Regions from separate parts of the Homo sapiens genome. Here regions 2 and 3 are each linked to region 1. The links are contacts of gene promoters, found by promoter capture Hi-C in blood cells and fetal thymus (Javierre and others, 2016). All regions are on one chromosome and are shown on one strand. The core of a region is centred on a gene start or on the middle of the fragment in contact, and the rest is flanking DNA. Distances in the headings are between cores, read along the strand shown.

Evidence for each region. The method cuts DNA at HindIII sites, captures the fragments that hold promoters and counts their contacts. A CHiCAGO score of 5 or more calls a contact.
Region 2: a contact is called between a fragment that was not itself captured here and the fragment with the promoter of ELOVL5 in region 1, in 1 of 17 cell types (naive CD8 T cells). The highest score is 5.8, in naive CD8 T cells.
Region 3: a contact is called between a fragment that was not itself captured here and the fragment with the promoter of ELOVL5 in region 1, in 1 of 17 cell types (fetal thymus). The highest score is 5.1, in fetal thymus.

Annotation. Positions count from the first base shown.
Region 1 is chr6:53,347,479-53,352,296 of GRCh38, reverse strand. It overlaps ELOVL5 (ELOVL fatty acid elongase 5), which reads left to right and starts at 3,347. Exons shown (of 8, transcript NM_021814.5): 1 at 3,347-3,480. RefSeq lists a silencer at 3,507-3,946. The HindIII fragment of the contact is 17,438 bases long and covers 1-4,818 here.
Region 2 is chr6:52,979,894-52,984,650 of GRCh38, reverse strand. It overlaps GSTA4 (glutathione S-transferase alpha 4), which reads left to right. Exons shown (of 7, transcript NM_001512.4): 5 at 46-187; 6 at 1,946-2,077. Among named protein-coding and RNA genes, the nearest start is that of GSTA4, 13 kb to the left of the region's middle. The HindIII fragment of the contact is 577 bases long and covers 1,394-1,970 here.
Region 3 is chr6:53,795,449-53,800,183 of GRCh38, reverse strand. The region is part of intron 1 of LRRC1 (leucine rich repeat containing 1); the gene reads right to left. Among named protein-coding and RNA genes, the nearest start is that of LRRC1, 2.8 kb to the right of the region's middle. RefSeq lists an enhancer at 4,395-4,735. The HindIII fragment of the contact is 950 bases long and covers 2,914-3,863 here.

The DNA of each region.
Region 1 (4,818 bases), core at 2,098-4,597:
ATTGTATTCTAATGAAAGTTCCAATTGTATTTTTTAATTCAACTGCAGCTGCTATAACAATAAAACAAATTGCCTAGGATGTTAAGTACTTTCCTTTTCAAAAGCAATACTGAAGCAACCTTCTAATACACTTAGAAGTGTGTGGTTTGAGGAGATTTGAGCTCAATGATGAAAACTAAGAGCAAAAGGAAAAATATTACCAGAATTTAAAAACAAATAGAAGGCCAGGCACAGTGGCTCACGCCTGTAATCCCAGCACTTTAGGGGGCCGAGGTGGGTGGATCACCTGAGTTCGGGAGTTCAAGACCAGCCTGGCCAACATGGCGAAACTCCATCTCTACTAAAAATACAAAAAAATTAGCCAGGTGTGGTGGCGGGCGCTCCCAGCTACTTGGGAGGCTGAGGCAGGAGAATTGCTTGAACCTGGGAGGTGGAGGTTGCAATGAGCCAAGATCGTGCCATTGCACCCCAGCCTGAGCAACAAGAGCGAAACTCCATCTCAAAAATAAATAAATAAATAAATAAATAAATACATGAAGGAGAAAGAAGAAAATATTAATAGTTAGCTATTGAATGAAGATAATTCAACAATCATTTCTTGGGGGACTACCATGTGGATGCTATGAACAAACAGGTAATAGTTACAAGGTTTTGTTAACTGTACCTTACATGGGCTCACATTGTTGGATAGGTGGGTTAGAAGGGCAAGGATGGCTTCAGCACAGTTTCCAGAACCCAGCTGGCCAGGAATCTGATTCTGATGCTACCTAAAACAGGTTCCTTGAGCCCTGTTATTTAGTAAGCCTGGCATTGGATCCTAGGTATTCTTTTGATTTATTTGGAAAAAATCCCACAGTTAAGTTGGGGAGTCGTTTCGGCTCCACTGTTTTTCTTACAGCTTTACTCATGAGTGCAATGATGCAGAAATACGAAGTAATTGTTAGGGTGGGAGGAAGTTTCCCCCAGAGATATATGACACATGATAAACATTACATTGTAATATGTAAAATAATACATTTGCATATATATATATGTTCTGAGAACTCTAAGTCTCTGGCTGGAGAACTAATGAGAACATGACCGTACCAACATGTTTGAGAGGAGTTAATAATCTAATAATCCTGGGATGTGACTATCTGACAGAGGATTGGAACTCTGGAGCTGAAAAGTGATGGTGATGGTGAGGGGGAGTAACTGTTCACAGATTCACTCATCTAACACGTATTTATTGAGCCCTTATATGCCAGGGATTGTACTAAGATCTACAGATCAATAAGGAGCAAAATTCAACATGTTTTCCCCTTCAACGGAGTTTACTACCTAAAGCGGTGGTCTTTAAAGTGGGGTACATATACCCCAAGGATTGAGTGAGATGATGCCATCAGAAAGCAACTACAATACAGGGTGGTGATGCTATAATGGAAACCAAGATACACACATCAACAAAGAACTGTGTAAAAACGCAGCCTTTGGGGGATGGGAAAAAACAGCAAAACGTCATACTTAATCATACAATAAGAAAAATCACTTGATATTTAATGCATAGCTTGACAGTTATATAAGCCTGAACTTAAAGATATTTTGGTCAAATGGGCTTAAAACATTTTATTGATAGGTAAGCACAATTCAAACAAGTGCGGCGTAAAACTTAAGACTTTTGGAATCTCAAGTTAAATTAGAAACTTTTAAAACCTGGAAAGGCAAAACTTAGATGGGATGACAGAGATGAACCCTGGCCTTGGACTACTGGCAGAAGCGTGAAGAATGAAGGAGATATCTCAAAAAAATAGTCTATGCCACCAGCATATGCTTTTCTCATGTCCCTTGATGTCCATAGCAGCATTTACCACTCTGCATTGTAGTTGCTTCCTGACTGTATCATTTTCCAGGCCCAAGAAGTCCTTGAAGGTTTCAAATTTTGAATACCTAACATAGTATCTAGCAAATTGAAGTCATTCAGTGTTTGTGGAGCTCAATGGCAACTGACAATCTCGATTCTTTGTATATGTTTAATTTACTTAATTTGTACATGGTTTGTATACTTGCATTCCTATTGCAATGGCCCACTGCCTGGAACACAGCTGGCACGTGATAAGCATTACATTGTAAATATGTAAAAGAATAAATTTGCCGGCCAGGCTCGGTGACTCACGTCTGTAATCCCAGCACTTTGGCAAGCTGAGGCGAGCGGATTACCTGAGGTCAGGAGTTCGAGACCAGCCTGGCCAACATGGCGAAACCTCATCTCTACTAAAAATACAAAAATTAGTCGGGTGTGGTGGCGCGTGCCTGTAATTCCAGCTACTTGGGAGGCTGAGGCAGGAGAATCGCTTGAACCCGGAAGGTGGAGGTTGCAGTGAGCTGAGATCGCGCCACTGCACTCCAGCCTGGGCAACAGAGCGAGACTCTGTCTCAAAAAAGAAAAAAAAAGAAAAAAAAGAATAAATTTGCCTACATTAAATAGCCGACTGTTAGGTGGATGCACATAGAGGAGTAAGAATACAGCAAGAGGGGCACACGAAGAAAGGCTAAATCTCTGGGGTTTGAATGGGGAAACAGTAGGATACAAAGCTAATGAAGGTCTTTAATTATCCAAATATCAGTGAAAAACAGCAAGGATCTTCCGTTTATGCCCTGAACCCCCTTTGTCTTAAGTGCTTAAATATGCTTAGCTGAAAAGACACTGATTCCATCTTTCCTCATTTAACAATCCTTTAGAATAATTTCTAGAGTAGAAATGGAGTTGATAGTGGCTTCCAAAGAAAAATCAGAATCCCTAAGAAAAATACACGGTAAATCCTTTGCAAGGGAGTTATGGTTACAACAGTTTTGAGTCGTTTTGTTCTTGTTCCTTTATCTTGTTCAACTGCAGACCTTCACTCCGGCGGTCTCCGTGGGCATTTAACCCTTTCAGCTTTAACGATGAAGTGGATCCCCTTCAGCATGACATAACTCATAGAGGAGACCGTAACGAGGGTGGGCTTCTGCCACCCAAATGCGGCCACAGACTCCTGCCACGCCTGGCAGTAAAAAAACCAGAGTTCAGGGCATCGACAACTTCACCGGGGCTATTGCGCAGGCTCTGCGTTCCACGCAGGCTTATTAGGAAGAAAGGGGAAAAAAATTTCCCAGAGACACGTGGAACCGAGGGGCCAACCCCGGCCTAGGCTCTCCACCGCATCGGATTCTGGAATTTACGATCACGAAAGTTCTATTGTCCCGCGATTGGCTCCCGGGCCGCATGACATCATAGCGCTTGATTCATCCTTCGGGTCCCGATTGGCTGGCCGCGCCATTGTGACGTCACGGTCAGCCCACGTTCTGATTGTAGATAGCCGGCGCCTTCCTCTTCCCATCGCGCGGGTCCTAGCCACCGGTGTCTCCTTCTACATCCGCCTCTGCGCCGGCTGCCACCCGCGCTCCCTCCGCCGCCGCCGCCTTGCTGCTGCTCAAAGCTGCTGCCGCCCCTTGGGCTAAAAGGTAAAGCCGTCAGCTCCGGGAAACTTCGTCGGGGGCCGCCGCTCGGCCATGACACCCGCGCGAGCGCGCGGCCGGGAAGCGGTCAGAGAGAACTGCCGTTAGGTCTCGGACCTGGTGCCGAGAAAGAGCTGCCGGGGCAACCCGCGCTCCGCCCGCGGCCTCCAGCTCCGCCGGCTCCGGGGTACAGCCCGGCTCCTCGGGCGCGGGGAAAGGGGTGCGGGTGCGGGCGCGGGCGGCTCGCCCCACGCCGAGGCTGAGGCAGGGCGCTCGGGAGCGTTCTCTGTGCTGCGGTCCCACCTGTGCGCGCTGACAGGCGCCGCGGGGCACGACACCGTGCCCACACCAGACGCGGAGGGATGGATCTGTCCGCCTGGGTCCTCCCGCCCTGCGGGCCGGAGCGCGCGGCGGGAGAGCCGGGGGAGCGCTCTCGGAGGGAGCGCGCTTTCTTTGGAGTCGGCGAAACCCGGGTGAGTTCGAAGAGCCTGTGCGAGGGTCTGCGGGCACCGGGCGCCGCTGGGGGGACTCTCCGGCCTTTCCTTTTTGTCCTGTTCTCTCCGCTTCCGTTAACCCTGCGGACCTTCCGTCCGCCCCTCGGAGGGAAGCCTGCTAGCTCGGGACCGCTTCAGTTTTTATTGAAACCAGACAACGGCAGCCCTTGGTACTCAGGGAGGGATGAGGCTGGTGGGAAAGCGAGAGGGCGGGGACTCGGGGGCGACCGGGGCGGCCCTTTCTGGGAGCCTGATCCCTGGAGAGGCGGGAGCGGTTGGCTGCGAGGGAGGCGCGCGGCGGGGGGGCGGTTGTGCTCTGCGCCGGGGGAGCTAGAGTGTGTGTTGTCTTGCGAGTTGTAAGGAAAAGTGCCTTTTTACTGTTTCCACGCCGGTAAGACTCTCCCACCCCACCACCTCGGGTCGACGGAGCAATGCCTAGAGCAAGAGTTGTTCTTGCTGAACTGCGTCTTGCAACCGTTCCGTGTTCTTGCACTTGGCGGTTCCCCCCGCCCCATCCACAATTGTGAATTAAGCTCCTTGATTGCAAATTTGGAGAATGCATTTGGCCAGTTATGCAAAGTGGCGGAGGTGGCGGGGTCGGGGGCGGGGGGTCTCTTTCGGAAGAATCCAGTGCATGGTTTATTAGCTAGACTGAGGAACCGAGAGGTGCTAGATGGGATTTGTGGGGAGCGAGCAGCCTAATTTGTTTTAAATAGCGGGACCCGTGGCAGGAAGTGCTTCATAGAATTGTACGGAAGAGCTGATGTTGCTTGTCAGGTTTTGTAACTCATTCTCCTAACCGCTTGGCAGATAACCTGTTGGTCTGCACTTGTTTTGCTTGCACGTCTCA
Region 2 (4,757 bases), core at 433-2,932, 370 kb after region 1:
CTTCAAAGAGAGGAGAAACTGAGACAACTGCTTTTTTGTTTTAAGGATTGACATGTACGTGGAGGGGACACTGGATCTGCTGGAACTGCTTATCATGCATCCTTTCTTAAAACCAGATGATCAGCAAAAGGAAGTGGTTAACATGGCCCAGAAGGCTATAATTAGATACTTTCCTGTGTTTGAAAAGGTAGGTGGCAGAGATGCCTACATACACAGAGCAACCAAACCACAAACCACAAAGAAGCTGCCACAAACACCCTTTTCTGTCCAAGGATTTTAAAACTGAGCCCAGTTGAACTAACCTAAGCGCTAATGGACTCCTAAGAGCGAATAGTAGCCACAGCACAAAGCTGGTGTCTTAGAGCCCCTTGGACTCTGCTAGGACCACATGATTCAGAAGTCTAGAAAAAGTATGGGCTCCCTGCCTTTGTTCCTTATTGTTCCTTGCATTCACCAAGTTCCCACCTTGTGTGGATACAGCAGAAACTTCAGAAGATACAGAAAACAAAAACTACCTCATTCATTCATTCAACAAAAGTTGTCGAACAGCTGTCTCAGCTGACATCCTCCCTGATAATTCGATATGAGTAGAAGAACCATTTCCATTTTATTTATCTTCCCTTTGCTCTTTTTGTTTTTGGTTTTGTTGTTTTTCTCTTCTTGTTATATCTGCTTTTCTGAGCTTCAAATTCTTTATTCCTGAACTGGGAGGAACTTTTTTAGTGTTTCAATGCAAACACTAAAGAAGAGGGTGTGAAAATATGGGAAGACCTATTTGGCAAGCTTCCTCTGACCATCTTTATGGAACTAGATTTAGGAAAAAGGAGAGGTATTTTCTGGGGTTTCTGTAGCTAGGTTTTATGGTATCTTTCCCACAGGCACTTTGTGAATGTAAAATAGGATAATGAAGAAATGTGGTCTGGAACGGGCACAGAGGACCTGGTGCTTTGGCAAAGGTTCACTGCTCATTCTTAGGTCCCAAGGGCCCAGACTGTGTCAGGGTTTCTTGCAACACGCCTATGAGGTGAGAACCGTTGTCCCTTTTACACATAATGAAATGAAGTCATGAAGAGATTCAGTGACCTGTCCAAGGTAACATGGCCAGAAAATGGAGAGCAGGGTTGGAACTCTGGCCTCTGACTACAAATTCAGGATGCATTGTACTATGCCACTCTGGCTCCAGTAGCTATATTTGACCTGGAATTGTGTTCGGAGTCCCTGTGACACACACACTTGTGCACATGCAGACACCCATGGGCATCCAAGAGTTGACTGTGAAGGGGATCTCCCCTTTGCTACTACTGCTTCTTGCCTCTCCCTAATCACAATCTATTCTTATAAGCCCCACACCTATACGTTACCCTCAGAATGGGAGTCAAGATGAACTCAAGCTTTTCATTTTCTCTGTTTTGGGACATGTAAGAGGAAGTCTAATTTTATAATTGGGTTGAGTTTATGACTACACCTCTTGATGTTCTAGCAGCAGAACTGGGAAATAAGAGTGGGCCCCTTGAAGATGATCTATCACTTAGATTTCTTAAATCACCCTGCCCCTCCCCAAGCCTCCTGCATGCATTTCTGTAGATACATTTTTGGAGTAGATATATCCTTTCAAAACACCAGATGCTAAATCCAGAAATAAGGAATTTTCCCTTCCCCACTTCAATGTCTCATTCAGATCCACAGCAGATATTTAAGGATGCTTTCATTTCCACACCTTTTTTGTACTTTCTCTCTCTCTCTCTCGCTCTCTCTCTCTCTCTCTCCCCCTCTCTCTCACTCTCTCTGTCAGATATAGGGTGCGTTCTCTTAATTGATGTTATTTATGAAAGCATGAAATGACAAGGTCATAGTTTCACCTCTTCTCAGATACTGCACTGATTCAATAGCCTCATCACTCTCTCCATGTGGAATATTGTAACTGATGCACACCATTTCCCTACAGATTTTAAGGGGTCACGGACAAAGCTTTCTTGTTGGTAATCAGCTGAGCCTTGCAGATGTGATTTTACTCCAAACCATTTTAGCTCTAGAAGAGAAAATTCCTAATATCCTGTCTGCATTTCCTTTCCTCCAGGTAAATAAAACTATGTATTAGAAGATTGGCCTAGAACTCTTGGGCCTTCCTTCAGTGTCTATTGTTTGGTTGGCTTTGGGGAGTGTGTGTGTGTGTGTATGTGTAATATTTTTAAGATTCTAGTTTGGCAAATGAAATGAAAGTAAGGACCCAAAGTTATTTTTCTGGTCCTTAAATCCTTCAAGTTGAAAGATCATTGAAGTGTAAAATTTTTTTTTTTTAAGGTGGGATCTTACTATGTTGCCCAGAATGGTCTTGAACTCCTGGGCTCAAGAGATCCTCCCACCTCAGTCTCCTGAGTAGCAGGGACTATAGGCATGTGCCAGCACACCCAGCTCAGAAATTTTCATCTTAATTTTGTTCCATAACTGCACTCCTGGAAAAAACTCCATGCACAGGGAGTTTGCCTCAGGGGACTTTCCATAGAAATAACCATAGAGATGAGGTGGTCTCACACTCACATGTATCTACTGATGGAATAGTGGGCGAGATAAACATCAAAACAGTCTCATTCATCAGGCTATGACTCCCTTTCTCAGAAATAGTATGGTCTCAAGTTAGGAAATTCTAAGCCTGAGCTCTGAGAGCAAATGAGAGATGTTAGCACCCTAAACATCACCCCAAAGGATTCCTACCATTCTCCTTCTGAGAATTCCAAGGAAAGACTTGTGTGGTTCAAATTATCCCTCAGGGTTATTCTGGCAGGATTGATCATAGAACTTTAAAGGAGAGAAGGGCCTTTAAAAAAAAACTCATTTAATGACTTCAATATTCACTTGAGGAAGTAGAGACCCAGAATAAAGAAATCAGCAGCCAAGCTGGCTTAGGCAGTGGATGCTTGAGTTTTATCTAGAACCTTAGCCTTTTATCTCCAAGTCTAATGTGCAGACTGTAACTCCTGGGCCAAACCTGGCCTGCCACCTGTTTTTATACAGCTTGTGAGTTAAGAATAATTTTTACATTTTTAAATGGTTGAAAAAAATCTGTGGAATAATATTTCATGACACATAAAAATTATATGAAATTCAAATTCTAGTATTCATAAATTTCATTGGTACAAAGCCATGCCCACTCATTTACACAATGTCAAGGTTACTTTTGTTTTTCTACAGCAGAGTTGAGTAGATCTGATAGAGACCATATGGCCTGCAGAACTTAAAATATTTGCTGACTGGTCCTTTATGGAAAAAGCTTGCCAATCCCTGAAACAGCCTGGATACAGACCAAATTGCTATATGTTTGACCAAGTTATCAAAAGCCAAGAGAGATACACTAACTCTCCAAAGAGTAACACACATACTTAAAACAATTTTTTGCCAAGTCTATTAAATATTTTGATATACTAATGAGAGCAATTACCACCAGTTCAATAAGTACACCCAGAAAATGAGAATAAAAATCTTCAACAAGGCAATAAACCACCATATCATTTATGTTATAGTTTATATTTTTTTTTCAATTTTTTTTTCATTTACTTTTGCAGACACAGAGATTGACTTTCCTTAATTTGATTTTATTCATTCAGAACTTAGGATACTTTTCACCTGAAGTATTCTTTTGCACTGTTAAAAAAGTTACTTGTTTAGCAGAGAAGGGAAATTAGAGGAAGGGATCTGCAACTTGTTGAGTGCCAGCTTCATTCCAGTCAGTCTGCTAGGCACTTACATGCATTTGCTCATCTGTCCCGTCAACCCCACCCCAATAACCCTAGGAGATGGGCTTCACTATCTCCATTTTACAGATGAAAATTACCAGCTTGGAAACATTACATTCTGCATAGTTGCAAGACTGTGGATGACTGAGTTGGGAGCCACAGGGGAGTCAGGGATCTAAGTCTGTACTCTTTCCACTAGACTGTGTGGTTTCTGAGAAACACATTTAGAAGTACTAGAAGTACCTTTGGCCCCAAATAGGTGGGATGCTGAACCCAGAAGTAGGTAGAATGCTAAGCTTATTAAAGGTGAAATCTAGGCCGGGCGCAGTGGCTCACACCTGTAATCCCAGCACTTTGGGTGGCTGAAGTGGGTGGATCACTTAAGGTCAGGAGTTCAAGACCAGTCTGGCCAACATGGTGAAACCCCATCTCTACTAAAAATAAAACAATTAGCTGAGCATGGTGGCATGTGCCTGTAATCCCAGCTACTCGGAGGCTGAGGCAGGAGAATCACTTGAACTGGGGAGGTGGAGGTTGCAGTGAGCCGAGATCATGCCACTGCACTGCAGCCTGGGTGACAGAGCAAAACTGTGTCTCAAAAAAAAAAACAAAGTGAAATCTTTCCAGGCATGCATATATATACATGCTTGTGTACACATAGACACACACCTCACAGGCAGTAAAGTACTTTTCATTGAATGGACACAAAAGATTTTAAAAGTCTAGGGTAAATGATAGAGATCAAGGTTTTTTGGTAAACTGTAGCACCAGGACCTATTGGTATTTTACATTGATGATACTATAATAACAACCCTTTTTTAAGCCCCAAGCATTATCTGCGTAAATACAGTTTTAATCTGTGATCAGATTGAGCATCAATATTTTAAAACTTCAGAATCGGACACCAGATCTGTGTTGAATTTAAAGGGTTATTCCTGTGTTGATTAATGGATTTAAAAAGTCACAAAAATTTTACTATACTTTGATAACTATGAACCCCAGATAAATCTTGAAACAATACATCAT
Region 3 (4,735 bases), core at 2,139-4,638, 450 kb before region 1:
CTGAGAGCTAACTCTGTGCTGACACTTTTAGTGCTTTACACATAGTCTTTAATAACTCTATAACCCTATAAAGTAGGTAACACCCAAGGAAACAGAGGCTTGAACAGAGTCTCCAAGTGTTGGGGCAGCATTTTGAACTATCTGAATCCAGTACCTCTGCTCTCTGCCCTTTCAAGACCAGCCCTAAAGAGCCTCAGCAGAAGACAACCAGCAACGCACAACATAAATCCAGATGAAGCCTACCAGATGGGAGTGAGGGACTGAGAGAGAATAGGTGGCATTGTGAAAACAGAAATGGCAGGACTTGGCAACAAAATGGAGAGAAGAAGGAAGGATCAGAGGTAAGTCCTTGGACCTTTGAGATGGAAAGAATAGCTGCCCTGCCCCCTAGAAACAGAACTTCTGGGAAAAGCAGTCAGTTTGCAATATGAAACCTAAATTAAAACATGGTTGGTTTAAGGCAAAAGGGACTTACCACAAGTGGAGATGGATATTCCCTTAACAGATCACAGCTGGATATATTAAACTTTAAGTCATGTTCATAGAAAATATGTTTACAATGCATGAAGATTCTTTCAAAGATAAGGCAATCAAAGGTGTCCAGCACAGAAGAGATGGAAAACAAAAACTGGCAAGACAAGGACACCGGATTCTGAAAGAAGACTTTGTGTCAACAATAGCTTCACCAGATTGGTGTACAAAAGTCTGACCATAGGAAGGGGAATTATGACGGCTAAGAAACAGGGCCCATCTACCCATGTTAGGACTCACTGACACATCTTTGTGCCCACTATGTACTAAATACTGTCCTAGGTCCAGCCGTGAAGACCTCTGCACTCATGGAGGTTATGTTTTAGTTAGGGAGAGAGACAAAGAACAAGAAAGCAAATATATGGTCTGGAGTTAGGTAATGATATATGCTCTAAAGGACAGGAAAAAATAAAGCAGAATATGAGAAAGAATGATGTAGGGGGCAGGCATTTGAGATAATGCCATCTGGCAATCAACAAAAATCAACTGAACTCTTAAGAGGAGGTGGCAAGGTGAAATTCAAATTTTTAAAGCTATGAAGCCTTTAGTATATTCATTTAAAATATGTGCTGCCTACTACTACATGAAGCGCTATATTGGTGCTGGAGATTACAGGAAAACACACGCATTTGAAGGTATCTGAGAACTGGTGCACACTGAGGAGAAAACCAATGGCATGTGAAAGGCTGAGGAAGTACAGAGGGGAAGCCAAGGTTCCTGCAGGGCAAGTAGGACAAAACAGTGTCACCCTATGAATGACCTTTTCTTCTGAAGTTGCTTCCAACTTGAATATTCTGACTATATTAGAAAAGGATAGATGCTGGAGCAGTGATATGCTTAAGGGAAAAGAAAGAAGCAGAGGGAGGAAGATTTTTATAAGATTCGGCAACATTCATTCAACAGATAAATAACTGTTTATTGAGCAAGACCTATTGGGTGTCACAAGGATGAGATTCTGTGCTGAACAAAGGTAAGGCCGGGCATGGTGGCTCACGCCTGTAATCCCAGCACTTTGGGAGGCTAAGGCGGGTGGGTCATGAGGTCAGGAGATCGAGACCATCCTGGCTAACATGGTGAAACCCTGTCTCTACTAAAAATACTAAAAAATTAGCTGGGTGTGGTGGTGGGCACCTGTAGTCCCAGCTACTCGAGAGGCTGAGGCAGGAGAATGGTGTGAACCCAGAAGGAGGAGCTTGCAGTGAGTGGAGATCGTGCCACTGCACTCCAGCCTAGGCAACAAGAGTGAGACTCCGTCTCAAAAAATAAATAAATAAAAAATAAACAAAGGTAAGCAAAAACACACAGACATCTCAAGAAGGTTACAGTGAGACTGCCTTTGTTAGCACAGAGCCAAAAAGGATCAAACTGCGGGTATGGGGGAGAAGTAGGTGGATGCAAAAAGGATGGTGAGGCTATCACCCAACTGCAACCAAACTGAAGATGAGGGATCTGATGCAAAAGGTTAAAAGATTAGGGAAGTAACCATCAAGTCCATAGCTTAGGAGTAGTTTAACCGTGGTGTCCTTTCCATCCCACACTAACTACATCTGGATTAAAATCATCTGCTTCCTCCCAAAGATGTGAATCATGCCTCCTTTAATCTCTATATTCCCAATAACTTGTAAATAATGGAGTCTCAATAAATGCTTGGCTAAGGCTAAGTTATAATGACATGAGTAAAACAGGAGAGACTAAATAAAGATTTGATGGGTGTGAGAAGCAGGATAGAAGATTCCTGCTAGGTGTCCAAAGCAATTGTATTTGGCTGACATCTGAATGAACAAGACCCACCAGCAACTGCATCTAACTCACTGGACAGCCCTGAGAAAGTCACCTCAATTCTGAATCTGAATTTGTAAAAGGAAGATATTGGCGCAAACCAGAAGTTGCAGGCCTTTCAGTGGAAAGAAGGTGGCTGTTATTACACTGAAACCTGGAGAGTGCATCTTTGCTGCCCTGGTAAGGGGTACCGGCTTCCCCTTAAGCTGTGCTTCCAAACAAATTATAGAGAGGAGAACATACAGCTGGTATGGCCACCAAAATAAGGACCTTTGAGGCTTGTGAACAAAACAGATGCGCTTGTGTGTGGCAGGTAAGGAGACAGGGGTTTGGAGCAGGAGCAGCAGAGACCAGTGGTAATAAGTTATACAGATCTCAGAGGTGAGACAACAGATAGCCCAAGGAAAGAATGGAAGGGATGGAACAGATATCTATGTTTGCAAGGTGGTTCTCATGTCTGGCATGTACACACCCAGGCACCAAGACACACAATAAGTCAGGGAGAAGTAGATTTTACACAACCTAAAAACTTTAATACTAATTTAACAGCTGTTAGAGCAATAATAATCCATTAGCAAGATCACCTGTAACCTTTGAAAAGCTTGTTTATTTACCATATTTACAGAGTGCCATCAGACTATATTTTGAGATTCTGACAAGTTTCCATTTAGGATCACAGAAAGACCTGACATTTCGGCTTGGCATGGGAAATTATGTAATTTCCCATGCCAAGCTGAATTCCCCAACATTACAGGAAAACCCACAAACCCTGCAGAAGGGAGTGAAAAGCCAATCCAGTCAAAGGAAATCTTCCAGTTCTACAAAAGAAAACAAAAAAACAAATACCACAAAGAGCAATGAATCATTTCTAGTGAATAACTTTTCACTCCATCTTCAATAATGTCATCCTGAAGCCCCTGAAAACTATTAAATTACATATTCTATATTCCTGGTGATATCACTGCCTAAAATTACACAACTTAAAGCAGTGAGGGAGCTGACGACTGGTAAGAAATCTTCAAGGACGTAAAAGGCCAGAAAAAAATCATGTGTTTGAAAATGCCTGCGAAATAATAAACGCCTGAGGGAACTTGATGGCTTTGCTGCTTCTAAGCTAAATAAAGCCTGGGGGGCTTTGCAAAGGTCCTAGTGAGGATAATCTCCATGATTACACAGAGCAAACATCCAATCAATTCCACATGAACCCAGGAAAGTTAATCCAAGAAGAACACCACCACTTAAAATATTGAGAAAAACACACAGTTCTTATTGTTTAAATGCTCCATCAGCGCTGGAGAACGTATCAGGTCATTCTAACAAGTCAGAACACTTGACTAGTGTTTCTGTGACAATGATTTGGCTTGTGTTAACTAAAGGGCAACAAGAAGTTTGCGTTCCAAAGCTCAGGCCTAAAACAGGTCCAATCCCCGACTGCCAGCAGTCTCCCTACTTCCTGCACACCTTTGGATTATTGCACACCGACTTCCTGCACACACCTGGGTTTGAGACACCTTCCCCGAGGGGTTACTCTAGCTAAGTTCCCGAGGCAAGCTTGAAAGAAGTTCGCTGTACCCCTACTCTCGGTCAAAGCACCATCAGCACATGTCGCTTGACAAGTTCGGCGGCAATGGAGTGATCAATTTACATAAACAACTCTGAAGAGATAACGCATCACTGCAAGGAGAGAAAGTCAGCAGGACGACTGTGCCCGCTCCGGGAAAGGCGGCTGCAAGGCTGGCCCGCGGGCAGAGCCTCCGCTGACGTTCACCGCAGCTCCCACCACGCAACAGGTCCACGTAGGCAAGGCCCGGGCGGCCGGCATCTGGGCACCTGCCCCTAGCGCTCCAGGCCCAGCTCTCCCCTGCGCCCATCTCGCGTCCACCCCCGCAGCCACCGCAGGCCAGCCGGCCAAGCCCACCCGCGATAAAGCACGGAGCACATTCCTCATTCCTCCCAAGATGCCGAGATAGTGCGGCCCGCTTGAGCGCTGCCCAGGTCACAAGGTCCTCCGGGACATGCCTTGACTAAAGGAGAGGCGCGCCCGGCCCTTGGTGGGGGAACGACCCCGGGGAGTGGAGGGGGGGAGGATGCAGTGCTCTGTAGCTTCCAGATGGAAACAGCCCGAATCACCCGGCTTCTCACCTGACCGGGCACAAGTGCCAGGTGTCAGTACCTAGCATGGATCTAAGTTACTTAACAGTCCAGAACGCTTCTCCAATAGCACGAGCCCCAGTGACTACGCGCAAAATATCCGGTCACTTTGAATAAAATGAAAAGGAACTTTTACTGGGAAAGGATGGAAGTAAAGAGACAGGGGGAGAAAGAAGCAGGTGAATGCATAAAAGAGGGAAGGTTCCTTCACGCCGGACCCGGAGATGGAAGAGGGGACGAGAGAGGATGGGAGCGGAAGGGACAGCAGACGAGC